2 separate regions of the Homo sapiens genome follow, and region 1 is linked to region 2. Evidence: promoter capture Hi-C in human tissues and cell types (Jung and others, 2019). All regions are on one chromosome and are shown on one strand. Each heading gives the region's core, a stretch centred on a gene start or on the middle of the fragment in contact. The rest is flanking DNA. Distances are from core to core; before and after follow the strand shown.

Evidence for each region. Contacts are between HindIII fragments. The study calls those that stand out against the background at their distance.
Region 1: a contact is called between a fragment that was not itself captured here and the fragment with the promoter of ZNF99 in region 2, in 1 of the 25 tissues and cell types used here (dorsolateral prefrontal cortex).

The regions. Positions count from the first base shown.
Region 1 is chr19:24,310,057-24,315,657 of GRCh38, reverse strand. No RefSeq gene overlaps it. Among named protein-coding and RNA genes, the nearest start is that of LINC03085, 170 kb to the right of the region's middle. The HindIII fragment of the contact is 3,042 bases long and covers 176-3,217 here.
Region 2 is chr19:22,780,526-22,786,224 of GRCh38, reverse strand. ZNF99 (zinc finger protein 99) reads left to right here and starts at 2,074. Exons shown (of 4, transcript NM_001080409.3): 1 at 2,074-2,211. The coding sequence starts at 2,209. The HindIII fragment of the contact is 12,356 bases long and covers 1-5,699 here.

The DNA.
Region 1 (5,601 bases), core at 447-2,946, 1.5 Mb before region 2:
CTCAGATAGCTTCCATCTATTTCTAACCTGGGTTATTCACTTTTTCACAGTTGACCTCAATGAGCTCCCAAATATCTATTCACAGAATGGACAAAAACAGTGTTTCCAAAGTGCTGAATCATTAGAAAGTTTTATCTTTGTGAGTTGAATGCATACATCAAAAAGTTTCTCAGAAAGTTTCTTTCTAGTTTTTATCTGAAGGTTTTTTTTTCACCATAGGCCCCAATACACTCCAAAATATCCCTTTGCTGATCCTACAAAAACAGTGTTTCCAAACTGCTGAATGAAAATAAAGGTTTCACTCTACCAGATGAATTCACACATGACAAAGCTGTTTGCCAGATAGCTTCCTTCTAGTTTTTTTCCTGGGATATTTGTTTTTCGCCTTTGGCTTCAATCACCTCCCATGTGTCCATTCAGAGAATAGACAAAAACAATTTTTCCAAACTGCTGAATGAAAAGTTTAACTCTGTGATATTTATGCATACATCACAAAGCAGTTTCTCAGAAATATTCTTTCTAGTTTTTATCTGAAGATATTTTCTTTTTGACCATAGGCTTCAAAGTGCTTCCAAATATCCCTTCTCATATTCTACAAAAACAGTATTTAAAAACTGATGAATCAAAAGAATGGATTCACTCTACGAAGTGAATGCAAACATGATGAAGGGGTTTCTCCAGTAGATTCCTTCTTTTTTTTATCCTGGGAAATTCACTTTTTCGTCATTGGCCTCAATAGCTCCCAAATGTCTGTTCGCAGAGTGGGAAAAAACAGTGTTTCAAAACTGATGAATCAAAAGAAAGGTTTAACTCTGTGAGATGAATGCACACATCACAAAGCAGTTAATCAGAAAGCTTCTTTCTGGTTGTTATCTGAAAATATTTTCTTTTTCATCTCTGGCTTCAATGTGCTCTAAATTATCCCTTCGCAGATTGTACATAAACAGCATTTCCAAACTGTTAAATCAGAAAAAAAAGTGTAACTCTATGAGATGAATGCATACATCACAAAGCTTCTTTCAGGTTTTTATCTGAAGATATTTTCTTTTCACCAGATGCCTCAATGAGCTCCCAAATATCCCTTCACAAACTCTACAAAAACAGCATTTCCAAACTGTTGAATCAAAAGAAACGTTTAACACTGTGAGATGAAGGCATGCATCACAAACTAGTTTCTCAGAATGGTTCTTTCTAGTTTTTATCTGAATATGTTTTCTTTTTTAACTTAGGCTTCAATGTGCTCCCAAATATCCCTTCACAGGTTCTACAAAAACCATGTTTCCAAACTGATGTATCAAAAGAAAATTTTCACTCTGTGAGATGAATGCGCACATCACAAATGGATTCTCAGCTTCCTTCTAGTTTTTATCCTGGGATATTTTCTTTTTTGCCATTGGTCTGAATGAGCTCCCAAATGTCCTTTTGCAGAATGGACAAAAACATACTTCCCAAAATGCTGAATGAAAAGAAAGTTTTAACTCTGTGAGATGAATGTACACATCACAAAGCAGTTTCTCAGAAAGTTTCTTTCTAGTTTTTATCTGAAGATATTTTCTTTTTCACCATAGGCCTCAAAGTGCTCTCAAAAGCTCCTTTTCAGATTCTCCCAAAACAGTGTTCCCAAACTGCTGAATTAAAAGGGCAGTTTATCTCTGAGAGATTAATGCACACATCACAAAGTGGTTTCTCAGATAGATTCCTTCCAGGTTTTATCCTGGGACATTTCCTTTTTTTCCATTGTCCTCAGTGAGCTCCCAAATGTCCATCCTCAGAATGGACAAAAACAGTGTTTCCAAACTCTTCAACCAAAAGAAAGGTTTCATTCTGTGAGATGAATGGACACATCACAAAGCAGTTTCTCAGAAAGCTTCTTTCTAGTTTTTATTTGATTATTTTATTTTCACCATAGGCCTCAAAGCTCTCCCAAATATCCCTTCATAGATTCTACAAAAACAGTCTTTCCAAACAGCTGAATTAAAAGAAAGATTTAACTCTGTGAGATGAATGGACACATCACAAAGCAGTTTCTCAGAAAGCTTCCTTCAACTTTTAACCTGAAGATATTTTCTTTCTCACTATAGGGCTCAATGCATTTCCAAATGTCCCTTCACAGATTGTACAAAAGCAGTCTTTCCAAACTGCTAAGTAAAAAAAAGATTTAGTCTATGAGATGAATGTATATATTACAAAGGGGTTTCTCAGATAGCTTCCTTCTAGTTTTTATCTTGGGATATTCACTTTTTCACCATTCGCACCAACAAGCTCCCAAATATCCCTTCACATATTCTACAAAAACAGTGTTTCCAAACTGCTGAATCAAAAGAAAAGTTTAATTCTGTAAGATGAATGCACACATCACAAAGCAGTTTCTCAGAAAGATTCTTTCTAGTTTTTATCTGAATATATTTTCTTTTTCACTATAGGCCTCAATGTGCTCCAAATATCCTTTTGCAGATTCTACAAAACCAGTGTTTCCAAACTGCTGAATCAAAAGAGAGATTTAACTTTGTGAGTTGAATACACACACCACTAAGCCATTTCTCAGATAGCTTCCTTCTAGTTTTTATCCTGGAGTAATCACTTTTTTGCCATTGGCCTCAATGACCTCCCAAAAGTCCATTCAGAGAATGGACAAAAACAGTGCTTCCAAACTGCTGAATGAAAAGAAATTTTAACTCTGTAAAATGAATGTACAAGTCACAAAGCAGTTTCTCTCAATGCTTCTTTCTAGTTTTTATCTGAAGATAATTTCATTTTCACAATAGTCCTCAATGTGCTTCCAAATATCCCTTCGCGGATTCTACAAAAACAGTGTTTACAAACTGTTGAATTAACAGAATGCTTTAACTCTGTGAGATGAATGCACACATCACAAAACGATTTCTCAGGTAGCTTCCTTCTAGTTTTTATCCTGGGGTATTCTCTTTTTCACCATTGGCCTCCATGAGCTCCAAAATGTCAGTTCACAGAATGGACAAAAACAGTGTTTCCAAACTGCTGAATCAAAAGAAAAGTTTACCTCTGTGTGAAGAATGCACACATCACAAAGCAGTTTCTCAGAAATCTTCTTTCTAGTTTTTATCTGAAGACATTTTCTTTTTCACTATAGGACTCAATGTGCTCCAAAATATCCCTTTGCAGATTCTACCAAATCCTTGTTTCCAAACTGCTGAATGAAAAGAAAGGTTTAAGTCTGTGAGATGAATGCATACATCACAAAGCGGTTTCTCAGATAGCTTCCTTCTGGTTTTTATCCTGGGATATTTGCTTTTTTGCCATTGGACTCAATGAGCTCTCATGTCCATTTGCAGCATGGACAAAAAAAGTATTTCCGGCCGGGCGCGGTGGCTCACGCCTGTAATCCCAGCACTTTGGGAGGCCGAGGCTGGCAGATCACAAGGTCAGGAGATCAAGACCATCCCGGCTAAAACGGTGAAACCCCGTCTCTACTAAAAATACAAAAAATTAGCCAGGTGTAGTGGCGGGCGCCTGTAGTCCCAGCTACTTGGGAGGCTGAGGCAGGAGAATGGCGTGAACCCGGGAGGCGGAGCTTGAAGTGAGCCGAGATCCCGCCACTGCACTCCAGCCTGGGCGACAGAGCGAGACTCCGTCTCAAAAAAAAAAAAAAAAAAAGTATTTCCAAACTACTTAATCAAAAGTAAGGTTATCTCTGTGAGATGAATGCACACATCACAAAGCAGTTTCTCAAAAAGTTTCCTTCTAGTTTTTATCCTGTTATAGTTGCTTTTTAGCCTTAGGCTTCAATGCACTCACAAACATAATTTCACAGATTATAAAAAAACAGTGTTTCCCAATTGTTCAATGAAAAGAAAAGTTTAACTGTGAGATGAATGCACACATCAAAAATCGGTTTCTCAGATAGCTTTCTTCTAATTTTTATCCTGCGATATTTGTTTTTCTGCCATTGGCCTCAATGATCTCCCAAATATCAATTCACAGAATGGACAAAAACAGTGTTTCCAAACTGCTGAAACAAAAGAAAGGTTTACCTCTTTGAGATGAATGCGCACATCACAAAGAAATTTCTCAGAAAGTTTCTTTCTAGTTTTTATCTGGAGATATTTTCTTTTTCACCATAGGCCTCAATATGGTCCCAAATATCACCTCGCAGATTCTACAGAAACATTGTTTCCAAAATGCAGAATGAAAAGAAAGTTTAACTCTGTGAGATGAATGCACACATCACAAAGTGGTTTCTCAGATAACTTCCCTCTAGTTTTTATCCTGGGATATTCCCTTTTTCACTGTCAGCCTCTGTGAGCTCCCACATGTCCATTCACAGAATGGACAAAAACAGGGTTTCCACACTGCTGAATAAAACAAAAGTTGAACTCTGTTAGATGAAAGTACACATCACAAATCAGTTTCTCCAAAAGCTTCTTTCTAGTTCTTATCTGAAGATATTTTCTTTTTCACCTTAGGCCTCAATGTGCTCCAAAATATTACACTGCAGATTCTACAAAAACAGTGTTTCCAAACTGCTGAATAAAAATTAAGATTTCACTCTGTGAGATGAATGCACACATCACAGTGAGGTTTCTCAGTTAGTTTCCTTCTAGTTTTTAACCTGGGATATTCACTTTTTCACCATTGGCCTCAATTCATTCCCTAATATCCCTTCACAGTTTCTAGAAAACAGTGACTCCAAACTGTGGAGTCAAAAGAAAGTTTTAAATCTGTGAGATGAATGCACACATCTCAAAGAAGTTTCTCAGAAAGATTGTTTCTAGTTTTTACATGAAGATATTTTCTTTTTCATCATAAGACTCAATGTGCTCCCAAATATCGCTTCACATATGCTACAAAACATTTTTCCAAACTGCTGAATCAAAAGAAAGGTTTAACTTTGTGAGATGAATACACACTTCACAAAGTAGTTTCTCAGAAAGCTTCTTTCTAGATTTCATATGAAGTTATTTTCTTTTTCACTATAAGCCTCAATGCCCTCCCAAATATCCCTTTGCAGATTCTACAAAAACAGTGTTTCCAAACTGCAGAATGTAAAGAACAGTTTAACTTGAGAGATTAATGCACACCTCACAAAGCTGTTTCTCAGACATCTTCCTTCTAGTTTTTATCCTGGAATATTCGCTTTTTCGCTGTCGGCTTCAATGAGCTCCCAAATGTCCATTCGCAGATTGTAAAAAAAAAGCAGTGTTTCCAAACTGTTGAATGAAAAGAAATGTTTGATTCTGAGTTGATAGCACACTCCACTGAGAATTTTTTCAGAAAGCTTCTTTCCCGTTTTTATCTCAACATATTTTCTTTTTCACCCTAGGCCTCAATGCACTACCAAATATCCCTTCACAGATTCTAAAATAACAGTGTTTCCAAAATGCTGAATGAAAACAAACGTTTACCTCTATGAGATGGATGCACATCTCACAAAACAGTTTCTCAGTTAGTTTCCTCCAGTTTTTATCCTGGGATATTCCCTTTATCTCCATTGGCCTCAATGCACTCCCAAAAGTCCATTCACAGAATAAACCGAAACAGTGTTTCCAAACTGCTGAATGAAAAGAAAGGTATAACTCTGTGAGATGAAAGCACACGTCAAGCAGTTTCTCAGAAACATCTTTC
Region 2 (5,699 bases), core at 825-3,324:
TTTCAAAAATGGTAGCAATTTCTAGTTTTTCCTGTATCCATGCCCATTGTAGGTGCTTTTAAAGCTGTTCCCATCAAGATCCAGAATGCTTTTCAAACCCTAGATTTTGCTGGCCTTATTCACTCAGGGCAGTAGAAACCTGTGAACATGACAATGTACTAGTTTGGGGCGTAGGCTCAAAAGGTCTTGAATGCTTCTGTTTTTCTTTCAGAATGCTGCCATCTCCATGAATAAAGCCCATGTTAGCCAGCTGGAGGATAAGATACCATGGGGAGGAGAAGCAAGTTGCCCCTGTTGACAGCCCCAGAAGCAGAAGCTCATCCCCAGAAGCACAGCTGCCTATTCAACAAACAGCTGAAGATACATGTCTGGAGGAGCTCAGCTGAGACAAAAAGAACAGCCTCACTGAGCCCACCCTAAATAGCTGACCATCTCAATTATGAGCAAATAAGTTTTGAATGATTTGTTGTGCTGCAATAGCTAATTAATACATGCACCCAGTGCAGATAGGATGCCAGGATTCATTGACAAGTTGATTACTAGTTCTCTTCTAACAGTGGGTACCCTATAGGTACTGATTTTTCCCCTGATATAAAGTTGGAGGCCTCGTAAGAGAATGCTGAGTAATGCAGAAATATATGTGGACATGTATGCATGTAATTGGTGCCTATACTCACACAGTCCCCCATACCACAGGAGAAAACAGATAACCACAGCCTGACCATTAGGGCCAAGGACAAATAGAAAAGTAAGTTTTCCTTTAATCTATTTTCTTCATATCTAAACATTGGAGGTCAAGACTGTGCACAGATTTGAAGACACAGAGATTTCTTCTCCTGTGGCCTTACCATCCTTAGTTCACCTTCTGATCTCTGGAATAAAGGTAGGCAACAGGTGGCCAGCAGTGGTCTACCTGTGGTTGTTTTTTCCTGCTGTCCTGTGCTTTATTTATGGCTACTATCTGTTCCTCCCTCAGAGCTGAAGAGAGATGTTGGTAGGGAAAGGCTCTTTTTCCATCTTTGGCAGAAAAGGTTTGTTCAGGCCCTTCCCTCTCCTAAGGTCAGAGCTGCACTTCAATGTGGCAGCTACTGGCCATGTGTGGCGACTGAGTGCCTGGAATGTGGCTGGTCTGAACTGTGATGTGCTGGAAAGGTAAAATACAGAGTTAGTTTCAAAGATGAAGTTCCAAAAAATATCTACACTTCATTTATAATTTACATTTTGCTTACGTATTAAGATGATATTTTGGATATATTGGGTTAATTAAATTGCTACAATAAATTCCACCTGTTTTTTTTTTTTTTAATTTTTAAAGTTTGGCTACTAGAAAATTTAAAATACAATTTTATTTCAGAGGATTGCCTTCTTTTTAAAACCTCAGGCAATCTGATGAAAAAACCAGAAGCCAGGAAGGTCATAAACTCTGAAAATTTTAGATAATTGTTATATTCTTTTCATTTGTGAATAACCATATAATATATTATTTATAAAAGAATGTGACCTTATACAAAAGGTTAAATGCAAATACCCTCTGGGGTTGGCCTGGCTCAGTTCAGGAAGGAAGCCCTGCCTGAAAAGGCTGCAGCCTAGACTGTCATCCTTTCCTTTCTTTTTCTTTTCTTTTCTTTTTTTCGTGACAGAATCTCGCTCTGTCATCCAGGCTGGAGTGCACTGGCGCGATCTCGGCTCACTGCAACCTCCGCCTCCTGAGTTTAAGCAATTCTCGTGCCTCAGCCTCCGGAGTAGCTGGGATTACAGGCGCCCGCCACCACACCAGCCTAATTTTTATTTTTAGTAGAGACCGGGTTTTGCCATGTTGGCCAGGCTGGTCTCCAACTCCTGACCTCTGGTGATTCACCCGCCTCGGCCACCCAAAGTGCTGGGATTACACGCGTGAGCCACCGCGCCCGGCCCGTCACTCTTCATTCAGCTCAGCATCAGATCACATCTTCTGTCACTCAGGGCCTGAGGAGGCGGGGATTTAAACATTATCCAATCAGGGACTCTGGGCTGGGAACCGTCCAATCAGGCACTCAGCTGGAGCGGAAAGGGCGGCTTGTGGGATGTGGCGGGGCCGTTGTTTCTGGTTCCAGCTGGAGCTCCGGATCTCGTTTTTACTGCTCTGTGTCCTTAGCCTCTGTGGCCCTGTGACCTGTAGGTATTTGGAGATCCACAGCTAGGACGCCAGGACCCCCTGGAAGCTTAGAAATGGTGAGAGTGCCGGGTCCGATATCCTGAGAAGGGGAAGGGGCTGACTGGAACCGGTGGAAAGTGGCTGTGGCGGGACTCAGGCCTCCCCTCAGTGAGCTCCACAGTCTGCGCCCCGAGCTCTTGCCCAGCTCGGCCTCAGTCTCCTTCAGCCATAAGATGGCGGCTGCGCTGACTGCGGGACCCCGGGCGACCTGCCTCCTTCCTGCACTGTGACTATGCCCTGGCCTGGAGCCCTCTCTGGGCCGCTCTTCACCCGCAGCGCCTCCTCTCTCACAGATTGTGCAGGGACCACGGGAGGGGCGTCAGGGGAGAATCCTGACTCCGGGTGCGGGTTCATGAATGGGAAGAGCTTTGGTCCAGTGAGGTTTCCAGTCCCTCTTTTCTCCTATTAAAAATTGATGGCAGTCATCACTAAAGTAATAAAGGATTTAATCAAAGAGTGATTCAAAAATGGCAGAGCACCCAGCTGTGGTTTGTAGTTTATGGTCTATGGAAGGGATTTGACGGAAAGAGTTTTATAAGGTGCATAATGAAGAAAACCAAATTCAGTAATGGGTTATGTACAGTTACGTAGATTCTTAATTTGTACAATCAAGATGGAAATTTCCCGTTTATATAATCAGAGGTTAATTGTAGTTTATAGTTGGTTAAGCCTGAATTTTGTTTCCCCCAATGTAGTAATTTACAAAAAAAAAAGCACTTGAATTATTAATATTTTTTTCTTTCTTTTTTTGAAACGGAGTTTTGTTCTTGTTGCCCAGGCTGGAGTGCAGTGGCGCGATCTCGGCTCAACGCAACTTCCGCCTCCCAGGTTCAAGCGATTCTCCTGCCTCAGCCTCCCGAGTAGCTGGGATTACAGGCATCCGCCACCACACCCGGCTAATTTTTGTGTTTTTAGTAGAGACGAGGTTTCTCCGTTTTGGTCAGGCTGGTCTCGAACTCCCGACGTCAGGTGATCTGCCCTCCTCCGCCTCCCAGAGTGCTGGGATCACAGACATGAGCCACCGCGTCCGGCCGAATTAGATTTTTTAAAAAGTAGATTATCAGGCCTGGCTCGGTGGCTTACACCTGTAATCCCAGCACTTTGGGAGGCCGAGGCGGGTGAATCACGAAGTCAGGAGTTCTAGACCAGCCTGGCTAACATGGTAAAACTCCGTCTCTAATAAAAATACAAAAATTAGCCGGGAGTGTGGCAGATGCCTGTAATCCCAGTTTCTCGGGAGGCTGAGGCAGATAATCGCTTGAACCCGGGAGGCAGAGGTTGCTGTGAGCTGAGATTGCGCCACTGCACACCAGCCTGGGCAAGAGAGGGAGACTCCCTCTCATATTAAAAAAAAAAAAAAAAAAAAAAAGGCCAGGTGCGGTGGTTCATGCCTGTAATCCCAGCACTTTGGGAAGCCGAGGCAGGCGGATCACCTGAGGTCGGGAGTTCAAGACCAGCCTGACCAACATGGAGAAACCCCATCTCTACTAAAAATACAAAAATTAGCCAGGTGTGGTGGCACATGCCTGTACCTGTAATCCTAGCTACTCGTGGGGCTGAGGCAGGAGAATTGCTTGAACCCGGGAGATAGAGGTTGCGGTGAGCCGAGATCGCGCCATTGCAGTCCATTCTGGGCAACAAGACCGAAACTGTCTTAAAAAAAAAGAAAAAAAAAAGTAGATATCAGGCACTAGAGCCACCTCAGTCTATTTGCCTGCCACTTAATTATTTTTAATTATTTTCACACTCCTCAGATGACTGATTTTCCCCTCCATTTTTTACAGGTATCTCAAGCAGAGTATTATGTCTACTCCCAAACCCCAATTCCTGCAGCCTAACTCTGGCTTGCAATAAAATACTAAACTTCCAGTTCATAATGTCAATTTTCCCTCTCTGATTCACATTACTATTTGTCCTTAGTGTACATTTTGATACTGTATTTTATTTTTTAACAAAGCATTGGATGGTACTTTTCATAATATTTGTTTTCTGTTTGTGAATATTTCCTAAGAGAAGAAAGCAAAAAATAATCCCCTGACACTGTGTTGTAAAAAATCTTTGTGCCGCTTTTTTTTTTTCCTCCTTGCTCCACAGATTTTAGCAGAATGTTTTGGGGTAAAGGTAAAGGTTTTCCTTTGGAAACTTTATGATGTGTTTTCAGCCATTCTTCAGTTTTTTCCCTGGTCCTGGGTTTCAGTACTGTCTGGGAATTAGCTAAAATATTCCCCATGGCTATGTCTGCTAGAGTGTCTAGTGAATATCAGCTCCTGGTCATTTTCTCCAGTAGGACAACCTGAGGTGTGGAGTGTAGCCTTTCAACGAAGAAGGCAGATGCCCTGGGGTTGAGAGGTCTCTCCTGGTATACTCTTCCTTTGAAAAGCTAACCCTTGAGACATTAAGATTGTCTTCACCCAACCCAGCTTCCATTTTTTGAAGACACATTGCTGGTCAGCCAATCAGATGCTGGTATTGCGGGGAAAACACAGAAATAATTTCTGCCCCCTGCATTCTTTAAGGGAGCAGAACAATAGTGAAATATAATGAAAAAATAGTGAAAGAAAAATAGTGAGAATCTGTGAAATCAAAAATAGTGTCCCAAACGACAAAAAAAAAAAAAAAAAAAAAAAGTGACCCCAATGAGATGGTGTAAGAACTTGAAAAGTTCTTACCTGGGGCACTCACTGGGGCATAGTTCAGAGTCTCCTGAGAAGGAGTTATTGGGCACTTAAGTGAGGAGAATGGGGTGGGAGAATCTCTTAAGTGATTGGATGGCCTGACTTGACACATGAATCAGACACATCTGTACCTTGAAAAGATTTGTTCACTTATTTTGACCTCAGTTTTTTAACTGTAAATTGCATTTTGTTAGTAGGGATTGAAAGGTAAGAAAATACTTAACCAAGGGCAAAAAAGAGATGGGTTTCAGAATAAAATTAATATTGAATTGTATATTCCATTTGTTAAAAATTTTCATTTACCTTTTTCCCAGAATGACTTTAGGAATTTTCTCTGGTGTGTTTTTTATGGTTGGGTGATTTTAAACAGAATTTCAAGGCTTGACTTTTCAAATGCTACCAAGGAAGAAAAATAGGGAAAATCTCTCTTCCATTTTGGCTTTAGAAAATGCACATATTTCCACAAGAAAAGGTGGTAATTGGTGAGTTCCTTAGATTCATGAAAACATCAGTTCCTCCTTTTGCAGGGTAAATTTGTAACAGTGACTATCTCTATTCTGTATCCTATTACTTTGCTATCTGAGTTTCATGCTGAAACTTTGTACCTTCTAGAAATGTTTCCATATGACTAATTGTTTGCTACATGATTTTTTTTTTTTTTTTTGAAACAGAGTTTCATTCTTGTTGCCCAGGCTGGAGTGCAATGGCACGATCTTGGCTGACTGTAACCTCTGCCTCCCGGGTTCAAGTGATTCTCCTGCCTCAGCCTCCCGAGTAGCTGGGATTACAGATATGTGCCACCACGCCGCTAATTTTGTATTTTTAGTAGA